2 separate regions of the Homo sapiens genome follow, and region 1 is linked to region 2. The links are contacts of gene promoters, found by promoter capture Hi-C in human tissues and cell types (Jung and others, 2019). All regions are on one chromosome and are shown on one strand. The core of a region is centred on a gene start or on the middle of the fragment in contact, and the rest is flanking DNA. Distances in the headings are between cores, read along the strand shown.

Region 1 (5,242 bases), core at 259-2,758, 630 kb before region 2:
CACCTGTAATCCCAGCACTTTGGGAGGCCAAGGCAGGCGGATTGCTTGAGGTCAGGAGTTCGAGACCCGCCTGGCTAACATGGTGAAATGCCATTTCTGCTAACAAATTTTAAAAAATCATCCAGGTGTGGTGGCCGGCACCTATAGTCCCAGCTACTCAGGAGGCTGAGGCAGGAGAATCACTTGAACCTGGAAGGTGAAGGTTGCAGTGAGCTGAGATCGCACCACGGCACGCCAGCCTGTGTAAAGGGCGAGACTCCATCTCATTTTTGGTTAACAGCTTTTTTGAGATATAAGTGTTATACAAAAAATCACACATATTTAATGTATACAATTTGATGGATTTGACATATTCCCCTTTGAAAGTAGAAAAACAGACCACTCTGAAGGAAAAAGGACATCCGAAGTTTCTCTTCAAAATACAGTCATCTACTACAGACAGCCCAGGGCTGGGTCCAGCCTGCCCTGCTCCAAAGCCTGGCCAGTTTTGTAGCCCCTCTTAATGAGAACACAGCCTGTCAAGATGTAAGGGAGAGGGGGTTCAGGAATCTTTCATCAGGCAAATGTGCTTAACAAAATATTTAGGATCTTTGAATCCTCACAGAGATTTCAATGGTCATATTTTCCAACCTCTATATCTATTAACTTGCCTAACAATATTTTTCTAGGGGGAAATGCTGCTAGATCCCTGGCCTACTGGTTCAGGACCCCAGACAAGTCCTGGCTTGCCATGATATTGATTTTATTTGACTGTTTTGGGTTGGGAGGGAGAAAGTGAGTTTGATGAAATGTACATGTTTTGGAAGTAAGTACATGACTGTGTTATTTTTCTCTGAGCCTTCATTTTAATTTTTTTTTCAAAAATGAAAAAGGAAAATTGTCTTCTTACCCACTCAATTGTTTTTTGTGGGCTGAGTCTATTTTTTCCTCAGTTTTTGAGTTTCAGCACAGAGGTTGGTGCATTGCAAGTGTTGACCCCTTACTTAGAAGTTTTATTCTGTTTTGGTGGAAAAAACAGACTCCTAAAGTTCATCAGTTAGGTTGGTTATTGACATGGAGAGATTCCTTTCTTTCTTTCTTTCAACTGTTATGTCCAATGCTTCCTATATCTGATGCACGGTAGTCCGTCCTGGAGGAGGAATGGGATCAGGAACCCACCTTCCAAATGTTTAGACCCCTGGAGAATAAAGAAGATAAACAAAAATTATTAATGCAGTAACACGAAAGCGAGGCTGCCGAAGAATTCGAGATGAACAGCTTCTGCAGTGCGCTCATGAGACCAGGCTCCATTTTCTTCCTGATTAGCTTGCTAAATAGACAGAAGAGCCTAACCTGGCCTCACGCAGGCTGACACTGAAGGCTGGCTGTGCTGGTAACTGGTGGTATGACTCTGGCTGCGTCATTTGCCCAGGGTTAGAGGCATGAGCCGAGGGCTCCTTCAGCTGCCACCCACTGTGATCCTCACATCACAGAGAAGCCAGCAGGGGGAGAAACCAGGAACTCAGGGCAACAGATGGAGCCAGGAGCCCCACATCCGTTGCCTGTTACCACGCTCCCCTCTCCACCCACCCTCTCACCATGGCTTATTAGAGGTGGCTTATGAAAAGGCTGGAATCCATGCTCCAGGGCCCGTCTTGCTCTGGTGGAGGGTTTAGCACCATGAAACTCACTTTGTAAAAGTGCACCAGCTGTGAGAAATAAGCTTAAGCCTCGGTAATCACTTTTTCACTTTTACCAATTACTCTCGGCTGCTTTGTGGCAGAAGTTAATACCGAGTAAGAATTTTCAAGAAGCCTCATTTTCCTTGTCTAATTAAATTAAATACTTGAAAGGTGATTTGCATCTTGATTTTCCCCCCATTTAGTTAACTGAAAATTACAGGGTCTTTCAGGAGTTTGAGTCACCTGATTCGCAGGCTGAGCCTCTGGGGTCAGGGAGCCCTCACCCTGGGACCCTCTCCTGCCAGCTTCCCACCCACCGGTTTTTTGTGTGCAGCTGTCCATGGTGAGGCCCTTGGACCAACACTACCCAGGAGAATTTAGGGAGGGCACGCCTTGTTAGTTTTCTAATACTGTCCAAAAATCAGCACAGGATGCCTTTGTCTCCAGGCTTTTAATACTCCCAACATGAAGCGGGTCTTTCTAGGGTGAGAAAACACAAGGACAGTCTCTTCCCATCCAGTTATTTTTGTTGCAAACCAGTAACAGAATTCGCCTGGACTGAATTCATCGGGCCAGCGTCTCTAATCTTCCTCTGTAGTAAAGATCTGGACTATTTAACCGCTAGAATTCCTGGCAAGTTATTTCAATGGAGACAACAGGATGCTGAAATTTGAGACTTACCGTACTGTACTTTCTGTTTTTTCCCCTTTCTGCCCTTTGTCTCTGAGATAACACACATGCATTGGAAACTCTAACGTGCTCTGCAGAAGTATTTCCTTGGACATAGGAGAGGCGTTGGGGGCATCAGGGAGCCCGGCCGATGCATCGAGTGTGAGTGAGTGCGTGAGTTTCCCTGAACATCTGAAGAGTCATCCTCTGTCAAGTGACTTTGTCTTGTGTAGGTTTCATGTTTGAACCAAATTATTCAGCAGTATTCCTGCTCTAAGTCACCTCCCCAATGCATATAATTACTGGGTGCATCTTTTGAAAAGTCCTTTTTTATTTCAAAATGAGCATATACCCTTAAAACATAATCAGTGAACAAATACCTTAGGTAAAACGTGAAAGCCTGTTCTTCCTTCCCAGTGCTAACCATGCAGTGTGGGTTCTTCCAGCTCTTTCTCTGTGCATCTATCTGCATGGAGTTTACAAAAATGATCTCTCTGCAGCTTACATGTTTCTACTCGCAGAAACCCTTTCATGTTACCACGTGCAGATATAATGAATTCTTGTTGTTGGCTAAATAACATTCCACATTCAATTTTTCTTCCAGCCAACATAAAGAGCCTTCCACATGGCCAGGTGCTTCTCCAGAAATACAACAGGAACAGGTTCTATTCTACTGTCTTTCTCTTGCTGATTTTTTTTTCTGGAATCTAAAGTATTTAACCTACTTCCCAATCACCTTATTATCATCAAGTGCTTTTATTTTTTCAGGCTGAAATTTGCTTGATGTGTATCTGTTGATTGTCCATTTACATAAAAATATAAACTCCATTAGAGCCATGATGTTGCCTGTCTTTACTGATAAACCCTCTCCACTAAAACAGTATTCGGCATGTGCCAGTAACTTAAAAACTATGGATTCTATGCATGGATGGATGGATGGATGAATTGTCTATGGATAAAGGCAGTTGGGGAAGAAGTCGAACTGCTCATTGATGACCTTGATTGGGTTTTCTTAAACTTCCAACTCAATTCTACCTACTTTAGACAGTTAAATGGAGACATGACTGACTCTTATGTATATTCATTTTATCTTTATATGTGCGTGTGTTTACCCATTCTTTTGTTAAAATATTAACTACTTCCATACAGATGGGCAAACAGGCATTCCCTGAGACCTCCTGGATCTTAGATACCTCACCCAGATCCAGGAACTCCAGAACTGGCCCTTGCCCCAGCAGGTGGGCTCTCTGGCACCTGGCTTCTATGCAAGGACCAGTGTCAGCTGAGACTGGCAGAGCCCTTGTCTGGAAAGTTGTTCGGTGTTTTTGATATCACCCCTGCCTTCATAGACTTGATAATATTCTGGTTTACTCTTTCAAGAGGATCATTTGGCTTTAACCTTTAAAAACACAGATCAGACATGTCACTCCTCCTCTCAAACCTACTGATGCCTTCCAACTCACCAAATCTGAAGTGCTTCCCGTGGCTTCCAGCCCTCTCTGGCCTGTAGCACTTTGCTGGAGCCGCTGTGAGTCCTGCAATCCCCACGTGCAGAGCACACCCCTGCCCTGCAGCCTTTCTGTGCACGGACTGTTCCTCTGCCAGAAGCACTCCTCCCTCTGGAACACAGGGCGGCTCGCTCACTCACTCCAGCCTCAGCCCAGAGGGCACCTTCTCCAAGAGCTCAACCCTGGCCCCTTGGCCAAAAGTCAGACTCCGTATTCCCAAGTCCCTTATCATGCTTTATGTATTTCATCATAGCATGACTTATGTATATATGTCTATGTGCCTGGACTATAGCAGGCCCTCAGCAAATATTTGTGGAATGAATAACTAAATGAACTAAAACATCCTGTAATGGGTATATATATATATATATATATTTTTTTTTTTTGAGACAGAGTCTTACTCTGTTACCAGGCTAGAGTGGAGTGGCACGAACTCGGCTCACTGCCACCTCTGCCTCCCGGGTTCAAGTGATTCTCCTGCCTCAGCCTCCTGAGTAGCTTGGACTACAGGTGCACACCACCAAACCTAGCTAATTTTTGTATTTTTAGTAGAGATGGGGTTTCACCATGCTGGTCAAGGAGGGTCTCGATCTCTTGACCTCGTGATCCACCCACCTCAGCCTCCCAAAGTGCTAGGATTACAGGCATGAGCCACCGGGCCCAGCCCGGTATAATTCTTTTAGTTCAGCATCCAGAGGACTGAAGACCAATGTGAGAACATTTTCTCATCATTCATATAACCAAGTACAGGAACTGGGCAGTATTTGATTTTCCTTGATTTTTGAGCTATCATCATCGGTGCGTATATGGATGGCTCTCTTCCATTTTCAACTGATCCTCCCACCTTGGCCTCTCAAAGTGCTGGGTTACAGGTGTGAGCCACTGCACCTGGCCTACCCTGCATTTTGATTTTACAATGCTCTTGTTTCCTCTTTTCATGCCTAGTAGTTTTATCATGCATACTTGTTGGCCGGCAGTATGTTCTCCATTATGCTTTTCAGAAGACAAAGTAGTGGAGTACATGGCTTTTAATTAGAATAGATTTTTCCCTAACTTAATTTTATGTTTTAGTTTTAAAACTATTTTTGTTCTTTTGGTTTTCTTTTTCTTTGTTTTCTTTCCCCAGCTGTTTAATATGAAAGCATCTGTGGTTTCCACATTTGCGAAGATGTTAACATCACTGAGTTATCTTTGTGTGTACATGGACGCCTATATATCTTTTTTTCTGTGCTATTTAAAACTAAGTTATTGGTTGGGCATAGTGGTTTATACCTGTACTCCTAGGACTTTGGGAGGCTGTGGTGGGAGGGTCACTTGAGCCCAGGAGTTAGAGCCCAACCGGGGCAATCTAGCAAGACTCTACCTCTACAAAAAATTTAAAATAATAGCAGTAGTCCCAGCAAC
Region 2 (5,227 bases), core at 2,184-4,683:
GAACCCAAAAGGCCCAGATCCTGAATTAAGAAAAAGACAAGAAAGAGGATACTGAGATCATTTTCTAGATTTTGTAAATTTTCTGTAGGAAGCACATAGTACCTTTAACCCCACCCACCAAATACATTTTCCTTCTGTGCAACTTACCAGTTCCACGAGACTATTATTGGTGAGAATGAGTTCTGTCAGACAGGGCAGAGCCTGATCAAGTCCCTCACCTATACGGCTAAAATAAAAATAGAGTCTTAGTAAAAGTGAAAATTAAATAAGCTAACAATTTTATCTACCTCCTTGCTCAGAGGATCACAGAGAGACACTTAGAGATCCTTCTTCCAACACCCTGATAAAGAGGAAACAAAGCAAAAAGAACCCTTTTCTGAGGCCACAGGGTCAGCAACAGAAGTGGGATTTTAGACACTGCCTGGGGCTAATTCCACTGTCATACCATCTAGTGGAACCTGAGAAAAGGTGCAACTCCTGGGTGGCACAAACTACTTAACTCACTTCATGATTTTTTGTGCAGGCAGCACAGAAATACAAATAATTCTGGATTCCCAGCTCAGGTACAAGACACAACAACTATACTATAGGGGAATGGTTAACCTATGAGAAATATTTCTATCTGAAGGAAATCCCACTCACCACCCAGTACCTTTAAAGACATTATCTATACACCAAGTGCTTTTTTTCCAATAAAGTTTACACAGAGCTGATGAAGGCAGGGTCAAAAAAGATCTCAATTTCAATAAGTAACAGTCTAGAAATTAGTTGCAGTTAAAAAAAAAAAAAAGCAGAGACGCTCAGTCAAAAGTATAATTGTTACCTTTATATATCCTTTTACTATGACCCCTTTGATAATTGTTTTAGAAGCCAAAATGTATACAAAGCAACATGTTTTTATTTAGAAACTTAACCATGAAAATAAAAATACATGATTTCTGAACAGATACAAGTAAGACTAGACTAATGCCAGGTTAATCTCTGGATCTCTATAGGAAAAGTGAAGTTCATTTCTCATTTTAAGAAAAAACATGTATTGAATGTGGCTTCCATTATGGAAAAAATATTTTTTCAAAATATAAATAAAAAAGAAAAAGAAAAAGAAAAAGAAACATGTAGGTTTAACCAGTAGCACGTGCTACAACTTCTTCAGGAAACACTGCAACATTTACTCTAGGGGAAAAAATTACTTTCCCCTACAGACACGTACCATATTCTGTTGTTGTTCACTAACAATGTTTTCAGTCTTCTCAACAAAGGAAAACCATCCAGTTTCCTGATCTCATTGTCAGAAAAATCAATAGCATCAAACTGGTCTAACGTAGCACCTAGATTTTCAATGACGGGAATTTTATACCCTATAAAATGGAGGAAAAAAACACAAGAGGTATTAATATAACTAAACAGTTGCCCCTTAAAGCATTAGCTGTATTTCATAGTATCTGACTCCAGGCTTTGATTTATTCAGGAAGTATTACCTAGCACCTATGTCGGGTCACGCATGACTTGCCGCTGTTTAAGATACTAGAGAGAAAACGCTGAACGAGTCTCAAGTCCCCAGTGCCATGAAGCTTAGAATCTGATGACAACAAGGACAAGGACAATAACAATGGCTGATATAGGCAGCTAACATTTATAAGAACATTTACAAGGTGCCTCACACTGTCCTAAGTCGTTTGGGCTAGTTAAGCGGAATCGGCACAACAGGAGTTTACACTTGGAGCTGCTTAGTCTCAGTGCCCAAACGGCGTTCAAACATTGTGGACGACAGTTCTCCACTCTTGCATCTCCACAGGCCAGATTCTTAGAACCCATCAGAACAGCCTCAACATATCACGACAGTTCTCCCTCCCCTCCCCCAGCTCCAATTCAGAATTGAAGATCAATGGTTTAAATACAGTAATAAATCTGTGAACACTCAAATGTTAATTTGTCTAATTTGGGCATAATTATTGTGTTAGGCACTATAAGAAAAGAAATATTCCGAAGAAGCAAGGTCTACTAAAAAAAGAACTTACCCAAAGTTAAAGGACACAATTCAGAGCTGTACTACACGTACTGCATCAAAATACGTATTCTCAACACTGCACATGCTCCATAAAGAGAAATGGCAGAGATCATCAAAAGTGGTGAGTTGGGCCGGGCGCAGTGGCTCAAGCCTGTAATCCCAGCACTTCGGGAGACCAAGGCGGGCGGATCACCTGAGGTCGGGAGTTCGAGACCAGCCTGACCAACATGGAGAAACCATGTCTTTACTAAAAATACAAAAAATTAGCCGGGCGTGGTGGCGCATGCCTGTATTCCCAGCTACTCGGGAGGCTTGAGACACAGGAATCACCTGAACCGGGGAGGCGGCGGTTGCAGTGAGCCGAGATCACGCCACTGCGCTCCAGCTGGGGCGGAAAGAGCGAGACTCCATCTCAACACAACACAACACAAAACAGTGGGATTTCCCAAAGGTCGGCAAGAAATCTAAGCAGATCCCGCAGCGATGCTGCTCCGAGGCCATAGGTCCCCATGGGAACAAATCTCAGGCTACGACAGCATGGTCTTATCCTCAGAGAAGTTGCTCTATCACGTCCCTTTTAAAGCCGTCTCCTGAAATGCCAACTAGCTAGCTGCCCTCCCAGTATCTTACCAAGTCTTGCTAAGGTTGAAATAGTACAGGAATCTGAATAATTGCGAGCGCTTCCACAACTTACACACAGCACCCGGCGGTGCAAGCCTGGGTGACACAGTTCAATTTTTAAAACGTCTTCATATAGGGGAAACGCCAGACAATTAAAGCTACTAAGTAGAAAATACTGGAGGAAACAATCGCGGTTGTTCGGGGACTTAGTTTCCTCCCTCACATTAGGAATAATGAACACATATCCTATCTACGCTCAAAATATCATCTGGCGGCAAGTATTAAGAACCAATCCCGCGCCCTGCACTTGCGTTACAACCATTAATGAGCCGCTCTTCCGGGCCCTCAAACAGCCAGCGGCGAAACAGCCAAGCAAGGCCTAACAGGGCCCCACGAGGACGCACCAGGAAGTAATGAAGTCACCCGTGCCTGTCAAGAGGCACGGCGCTAACAGAAGGCTCCCAGGAGCTTAACCGGATGCTCATCTGGCAACAACGGCAAGAATCAGGCCCGGCGTTCCCTGCGCAGCCCGGTCGGAGCCCAGACAACCGGCCCGCGGGCCAAGCTCCGGCCTTCGGTGCACGCGGCAAAGCGCGGAAAATAAGGCGGCTCGGTGCCGCCTGGGGACTGGCCGCCCACGCCCCCGGACTCACCCCGGAGGTCCAGCTCCCGGTCGCGCACCGCGTTGGTGTACTGCGCCGCCTGCTCGATCAGCTCCGCCGTCAGCTTGACCATCCTGCAGCCTCCCGTTCCCCCGCGCTGTGGAAAGCCCGTGGCCTCCCGCCAGCGAGACGTCCCAGCGTGCCCCGCGCCCCGCCGCCAGGCAGCACCAATCGCAGCCGCCGAGTGCGCGCGCAGCTCGACCGCCAGGCCGAAGCAATCGAAGAGCCACGCCTCCGGGGGCGTTCTTGCCGGAAGTCGTGGCGCGCGCACAGGGGATGTGTCTCGTTCTGGGTTGTTTCCTAGGGTGTGTTTCGGAGTCTGGAGGACCCCTGATTCCAGACGTTGGTGTTTAAAAGTTAAGGCGAATGTGGAAACACCCGAGGGGAACTTTCTCATGCATTAGCGCACCTCGAGGTGGGAGGGGAAGCGGTGACTGTCCTCCCTCCACCAGCCGTCGCGGGAACCCGTGGGGTTCAGTGAAGGGTCCAGCAGTTCAGGTGCCCGCCCCGGGCCTGGGCCTTGGCTCCGGGCTACAGTGTGAGATCCCGGGCTAGGTGGCCCGCCTGGGGCAGGTCGCCGGGACAACCCCACCGCCCCGCAAGTCCAGCCCGGCCTCGGGCACGGTAGGGTTTGCGGTTAAGCTTGTGACCTTTAGACTTCTGAATATTCATATGTATGAAATGTGATATACATAAAAGTGTGCATATCAGGAATTTACAGTGATTAATGACCAGAGTGAACACAGCTGCGTAGCCGACACCGGGATCCAAAACACCGCTATTCTGAAAGCCTCCCTCTTTCCCAAAAGGCAACCGCGAACTCAACACTACAAATTCGGTTTGCTTGCTTTTGCTATAAATAGAATCATGCAGTATGCTTTTTTTTTTGGCCTAGTTTCATGGAGTCTATATTATGTCTGGAGTCCATCCAGGTTGCATACAGAGATGGTTTGTTTGCTTTTGCTGCTGAAGAGAATTCCATTGTATATATTATACCATAAATTACTTATTCTGCTGTTGATAGACATCAAAGTTGTTTTCAGTTAGGGCTATTCTGAGTAATGCTACTATGAATTTTCTGGTACGTGGTTCTGATGCACGTTTGCATGAGTTTGTCCTGGAGTGGGACTGCTGGGACATAGGGTATATCTATCATCAATAAGTAATGCCCAACAGTTATGCTAAGAGGCTGAAATAATATACACACTCCAGCGGTGTGTAAGGGTTTTCATGGCTTCCAGCTTCAGCCTTCTTGGCATTTTAACTCTATAACTTCAGCTATTCTGATGGGTGTGTGGTGGTATTGCACTACTGCTTTGCTTTGCTTTTCTCTAATAACTAATGAAGCTGAGAACCTTCTCATGTGTATGGTGCCCATTCTGATAGCTTCCTTGGTTAAGTGTTCTTTCGAGTCCCTGGCTCATTTTTTTTTTTTCCTTATGGAGTTGTCTGCCTTTTTTCTTATTGATTTGTGGAATTTCTTTATATATTAGGGATATGAACACACTCTGTGGCTTGCCTTTTCACTCTTAATGGTGTTGATGATTAGATTTTTTTTTTTTTTTTTTTTTTTTTTTTTTAGACAGGGTCTCACTCTGTCACCTAGGCCGGAGTGCAGTGGTGCCATCAGGACTCACTGCAGCCTTGACCTCTCAGGCTCAAGAGATCCTCCCACCTCAGCCTCCCAAATAGCCGGGACTATAGGCACAGGTCAACAGGCCTGGCTAACTTTTGTATTTTTTGTAGAGACAAGGTTTTGATATGTGGCCCAGGCTGGTCTCCAACTCCTGAGCTCAAGTGATCCACCTGCCTCAGACTCCCACAGTGCTGGGATTACAGGCGTGAGCCGCCTCGCCTGGCTGAGAAGTTTCCAAGTTTTATGTAGTTCAATTATTTTCTTTAGGTTAGTGGATTGGGTGTGTGTGCATGTGCATGT

The links. The method cuts DNA at HindIII sites, captures the fragments that hold promoters and counts their contacts. A contact is called where the count stands out against the background at its distance.
Region 1: a contact is called between a fragment that was not itself captured here and the fragment with the promoter of SNRPA1 in region 2, in 1 of the 25 tissues and cell types used here (spleen).

The regions. Positions count from the first base shown.
Region 1 is chr15:100,661,760-100,667,001 of GRCh38, forward strand. No RefSeq gene overlaps it. Among named protein-coding and RNA genes, the nearest start is that of ASB7, 62 kb to the left of the region's middle. The HindIII fragment of the contact is 6,198 bases long and covers 1-4,607 here.
Region 2 is chr15:101,291,815-101,297,041 of GRCh38, forward strand. SNRPA1 (small nuclear ribonucleoprotein polypeptide A') reads right to left here and starts at 3,434. Exons shown (of 9, transcript NM_003090.4): 1 at 3,283-3,434; 2 at 1,211-1,358; 3 at 148-226. The coding sequence starts at 3,364. It overlaps SNRPA1-DT (SNRPA1 divergent transcript), which reads left to right and starts at 3,534. Exons shown (of 2, transcript NR_186319.1): 1 at 3,534-3,915. RefSeq lists enhancers at 1,391-1,470, 2,388-3,019, 3,583-3,632, 3,693-3,782 and a silencer at 3,163-3,352. The HindIII fragment of the contact is 7,299 bases long and covers 1-5,113 here.